Regions from separate parts of the Homo sapiens genome. Here region 1 is linked to region 2. The links are contacts of gene promoters, found by promoter capture Hi-C in human tissues and cell types (Jung and others, 2019). All regions are on one chromosome and are shown on one strand. The core of a region is centred on a gene start or on the middle of the fragment in contact, and the rest is flanking DNA. Distances in the headings are between cores, read along the strand shown. Region 1 has its middle 25 kb from the start of SYCE1L. Region 2 holds the start of CFDP1 (craniofacial development protein 1).

Region 1 (2,700 bases), core at 177-2,676, 1.8 Mb before region 2:
CAGCTGTCTCTCTCAAAGGAAATCCAGCAGACACGCTTTGTGGCTCTTGTCTGATCTGTGTCCAGTTTATTTCTGCCAAGATAGCCACTCTCTAGGAGAGCGTGTTGTAAGTGATAACACTCCTGGAGCCCCTGGACCTTGCATTTTGGTTTCCTATTCTCCTTATGTCCTAGTTAAGGTTCAGGTGTGCCAGTCAGGAGAGACAGAAGGAAAATGGGAAAACGAAATGCATGACATGAGAGATGACCAGCAGGAGCACGCCTTTATCAAGGTCTAGGGGCTCCAGGAGTGTTCTCACTTAGGCTTTCCACAGGGGGTTGTGAATTTGCTAGTTTAAGGAAAATACGTGTGAGAAAGGGAACTTACCTACACGACTCTGGTGTTGGCCACTGGGTTTTATCACAGTCAGCAGCTGTGGGATATGTTGGGTTTGGGTTCAGTGGGATGAGGAACAAGTGGGCTATATTGCAAACAGCCACATGGGGAGAGGAAGTTTTAACTAGACCAAAGGTGACAGGGTACAACTGGACTTCAAACAACTTATGTCAGGCCTAACAACGGATGCCAAGGCAGCAACTGCATTAAACAAGTTTATGACATAGACATAACCCAGAAATGGTCATCTCTATGCATACGCTTAGCTTGCATGGGAATAGAGATAGAATAATTGCTACTTCATGATCCACATCAGAGAAGGAATTGTTCTTTTGATAGAACCTATTCAAATGTATGTTGACTTTCTGCTTGGCATCTTGGAGCAATAGGAAGGTGTATATTTCTATTGCTGGAAAGCCCTCTCGATCTCACATTCAATCACCAGGTGCATGCAGGCCTAAGCCCCCTTTGGGGTGTGTAGGTAATCTCTATTTCCATGCCAGCACTGGCCTAGTTACAGTACTAGGAATTCGTTCTGAACAACTGCAACATTTCTGACTTCCACCTCCTTCTAGACTCCCAGGGCTGTCAACAAGTCGTGTCTTTCATCCTCATCAGGTCCTTTTACATTCCCACAGCAAGAAAGGAAAAGCAGCCCATGATGTATTTTTTTAACAAGCCACTGGGGATACCCTGGAGCCAGTATTAAAAAAGCACGCCTGGCTGAGCACGATGACTCACGCCTGTAATCCCAGCACTTTGGCAGGCCAAGGTGGGCGGATCACTTGAGGTCAGGAGCTCGAGACCAGCCTGGCCAACATGGTGAGACCCCTGTCTCTACTAAAAATACAAAAATTAGCCGGGCATGGTGGCACACACCTGTAATCCCGGCTACTCAGGAGGCTGAGGCAGGGGAATCACTTGAACTCGGGAGGCGGAGGTTGCAGTGAGCTGAGATCACACAAGTGCACTCCGGCCTGGGTGACAGAGCGAGACTCCATCTCAATAAATAAATAAATAAATAAATAAATAAATAAATAAATAAAAGCATGCCTCAAACTTACTCCAGCCAAACGCCAAAGGAGCTGGAGAATTTATGCACAGTAAGAGTCCTATCAAGGGAGAAAAACTATGCAATAATTTGAACAGATAAAGTTTAAAATACATCATTATTAACTAAAATGGGATATTGGGGCAGTGAGGGGTTCACTAGGAAAAAGCAAAGAAAACTCTGAAGCATACAGAAAGAGCCGACCTACGCAGCAGCTACTGCCTGCAGGGCTGAGCTGGAGCGTCCAAGGGAGACCCTCTACCCACAGGGTGAGGTCAGGTCCTAGTTGGACAGGTCATGGCTGTGACTCACTGAAGGGCAAAGAAGTTGCTGTAGTGCTGCCTTTGTAGAACTTTCTGGAAATCTGCCCTCTAAACCTTGCCAGAAATCCATCTTCTGAGGTGTTGGGGAACGTTGTTCATGGAGAGGTGTCTCACTAGAGTCACTGCTACAAAACTACCAAAGATGGTGTCTTGGGACGCTGCTGGCTGCCATGCGCTACAGGAACCTGCGCTGGAGAAGTCGTCCACCCTGCAGAAACCTACCTAGCCGGAAGACCAGAACCAAAGCAGAAACGTCTCCCTGGCGCCCTCTACTGAGCAAAGCTTAACATCGTGTCAGCTGGCAAAGGAAACTGTTTCAAGGGCCTGATCCATTTTCACAAGGCAGGTGGTAAAGGTGAATTTGGAGCTGAGAGGCAATACATTGTTAACTGGCATATACACCCAATCCTATCGGTCAATAGATGAAGACTGTTCTGAGGCTTAGGGAGGCAGAAATTCATTCTGCAACACTTCTAGCCCACCAGACAAATAGGCCAGGCATACTTCAGCATCCATGTCATGGAAAAATGTCATGGAAAGGAATTTATGTCCTGGCAGATGGAAGCCGGCCTGGCGTGCAATGAGGTGTAAGACAAGTGAGTACAGGTAGGCGCTGACCCTATCTGCTAGAATCAGTATTCCATTTTCCACCTGCAATAAGATCATGATTGTGTTCATGCACAAGCAGGCCAACCCCAACCAGAATCCCATAGGAAGATGTGTTTCCTGGCACTTCTCCTGGTAGCAAGATTGTCAGTCAGGGTCTAATCAGATAAAAAGATAGAATTTATTTAAAGCAGAGGGAATATAATTGCAGGTGTGATTGTTAATTTTAATGTGTCAACTTGACTGGGATAGGAGACAGCCAGAGAGATAGAAAAATATTACTTCTGGTTGTGTCTGTGAGGCTGTTTCTGGAAGAGAGTAGCATTTGAATCAGTCCACTAAGGG
Region 2 (2,700 bases), core at 79-2,578:
AGCTTCTGGGATGAAGCAGTTGTGGAACCAATCAGACATCATCCACACTTTTTTGTTCCACCTCCAATAGACTGGCAGATGGTTCACGTATTTCCCGTTAAGTGCTTGTGGATTTTGGGTTCTTTACACCATTAGGAGTTTGCACTTTAGTCGCTCTTGGCATTGGCGCACAATAACAAGGGTGCATGATCCTGGCATGATTTAAAGCCAGGGGCTTTGGAGGCCGTTTGCATTATATAGGTTCGTTTGCCAACATCCTTGTAAAATAAGCCAGTCTCATCCGCATTGAAAACCTGCTCTTTCACATAACCCTTTTCCTGTATAACACTTAGCAAGTATTTTTAAAATTCTTCCGCAGCCTCCTGATCTGCAGAGCTCGCCTCACCTGCAAGTTTAACATTTTTCACCCCGTATCGCCTTTTGAAACGCGCGAGCCGGCCAGCACTCGCCGAGAAGGGCTTAGCATTTCTTTGACTCTGGGTAACGTGACCACAGATATCTTTGGCTTTCAGCCTCACCACAATGCTGTCCACTATGTTTTTTTTAATCGATTGACATCTCATGAATCCACAAATTTAGCCGCTTTTCCATCTTTTCCATCTTTGTCATAGCTTCATCACGCACGATGGAGGTCACTTCAGCACTATCCGGAGCGGCCTCACGGACAGATCGGTGAATTTCCTTTTCCTTTTTCTTGATGTACCGGATTGTCGACTCGTTAACATTGAGCTCATGGCCAACAGCACTGTAACTCATGCCTGATTGGAGCTTATCCAACACGCGGACTTTCTCCGTAAGGCACATCACGGTCTTCTTTCGCTTAGGAACACTGGGCAGAGCTTAAGCACTACGCTTGGGGGCCATTTTAGAAAGCAAAACCACCCACAAAAAGCAGAAAAAAAAGTGTCAGTAAACAGACTGCGGAAAGGACTCTTTGTTTACAGCACAGGAGCTGCGACTAGAAGGCGGCGCTTCTCCCAGTTCAAACTTCAGCTGGGAACCTTACCTCCGCCAACTCCAAATTTTCACCCTCTGCGCATGCCCGGGAAGAACCCCAGACAGTACCGTGATGATTGATTTTAGGGTTACAAATACATTTTAGCAAGTAAGTGAATTTGGCATTACGAATTAATGATTAATGAAGGTCACCTGTATTTCCATAGATATGTAATTTTATTTAAGCAGGTTTATTATATTAAGGCGGCGAGGCAGCGCCGAAGACTACAAGTTCCAGCATGCACCGCGTCCGGGCGGGTTCGGGCTCCCAGCGAGGGCTTCAGGGACGCCAGCCCGGAGGCATCGGCCGGAAGTGTCGTAGGGCAACCACGTAGTACTCTCTGCGCATGTGCAAAGCGCTGTCGGGGGCCGCCCTAGCTGCCGTCGCCGCCGCCGGGGCTCTATGGTCTCTCCCTAGAGCTTTGCCGTTGGAGGCGGCTGCTGCGGTCTTGTGAGTTTGACCAGCGTCGAGCGGCAGCAACATGGAGGAATTCGACTCCGAAGACTTCTCTACGTCGGAGGAGGACGAGGACTACGTGCCGTCGGGTGAGCGATTCCGCCTGAGGCGAGAAGCGAATTGCCCCGCCCCACGCCTCACGTGAGGCGCGCTCTGCCCCCGCGGGCGTCTGCCCTGTGGCCCAGGTGGTCCAGGGGGGCTCCTGTTCTCGAGCGTCCGCTCCCTCAGGCCCCTCATCCTCGGCCGCTCCGGCCCGAGGCGTGTGCGCGTGGCGGTTCTGTGCTCCCCTCCCGTTGGGCAGCTCCGGCCGCCGCCCCCTCTTGCAGCGCGGGAACCGGCACATGGACACGGCCCCTTGTCGCTAGGGACGCTCGTCGGTCAGCCCCGAACGACACCGCTGCTTCAGAAGTCGGGGCGGCAGTCCGAGCCTTGGAGGTTTTTTTCAGCCCTGGCCCGAGAGAGCTGCTGGCCACCACCCCGTCCAAGATAGAGCTGTCCGCTCTCCGCCTGGTTGTTAGAAAGTTCTGATAGAAAGTTCCCCCTTTGATGCTTTTTGCCTCATTGTGACGTCCACCCATCCTCTCCTCTCAGAACTTTCTTTCCTTAGGGATCTCAACCCGAACGGGGTGAGAATGAATCTTACTGAAGAAATCTTTCTGTTCCCCCTTCTTGGTCTTCCCCAGACAAACCGTCTCGTTGAAAGTATCTTCACCCATTCACATCTTCAGTTGAAAGACTAGACAAACAAGAAACAAACAGACTAACAAAACACAACCCAGGAGTCGTCCCTATTCTCTTTGTTTTACTTTGTTCTGTTCTGTTTTATTTAAAGACAGGGTCTTGCTGTTGTCTAGGCTGGAGTGCAGTGATGCGATCTTGGCTCACTGCAACCTCAGACTCCTGGGCTCAAGCGATCCTCCCGTCTCAGCCTCTGGAGTAGCTGGGACTGCAGGTGCAGGCTGCCACGCCCGCTAATTTTTTAAATTTTTTTTTTTTTTTTTTTTTTTAGAAATGGCATCTTGCTATGTTGCCCAGGCTGGTCTCGAACTCGTGGGCTCAAGTGATCCTCCCACCTCAGCCACCCAAAGTGCTGGGATTACAGGCATGAGCCACCGCGCCCCGGCTAGTGAAGTATTTCTAAAAGGCACGTTGAAAACTAGCCATTCCATTCCTGGCGCGGTGGCTCATGCTTGTAATCCCAACACTTTGGGAGGCTGAGGTGGGTGGATCACAAGGTCTGGAGATCG

The links. Contacts are between HindIII fragments. The study calls those that stand out against the background at their distance.
Region 1: a fragment that was not itself captured here is called in contact with the fragment with the promoter of CFDP1 in region 2 in 1 of the 25 tissues and cell types used here (hippocampus).

Annotation. Positions count from the first base shown.
Region 1 is chr16:77,222,649-77,225,348 of GRCh38, reverse strand. No RefSeq gene overlaps it. Among named protein-coding and RNA genes, the nearest start is that of SYCE1L, 25 kb to the right of the region's middle. The HindIII fragment of the contact is 3,579 bases long and covers 1-2,700 here.
Region 2 is chr16:75,432,131-75,434,830 of GRCh38, reverse strand. CFDP1 (craniofacial development protein 1) reads left to right here and starts at 1,328. Exons shown (of 7, transcript NM_006324.3): 1 at 1,328-1,542. The coding sequence starts at 1,479. RefSeq lists enhancers at 722-1,289, 833-1,342 and a silencer at 1,653-1,892. The HindIII fragment of the contact is 15,991 bases long and covers 1-2,700 here.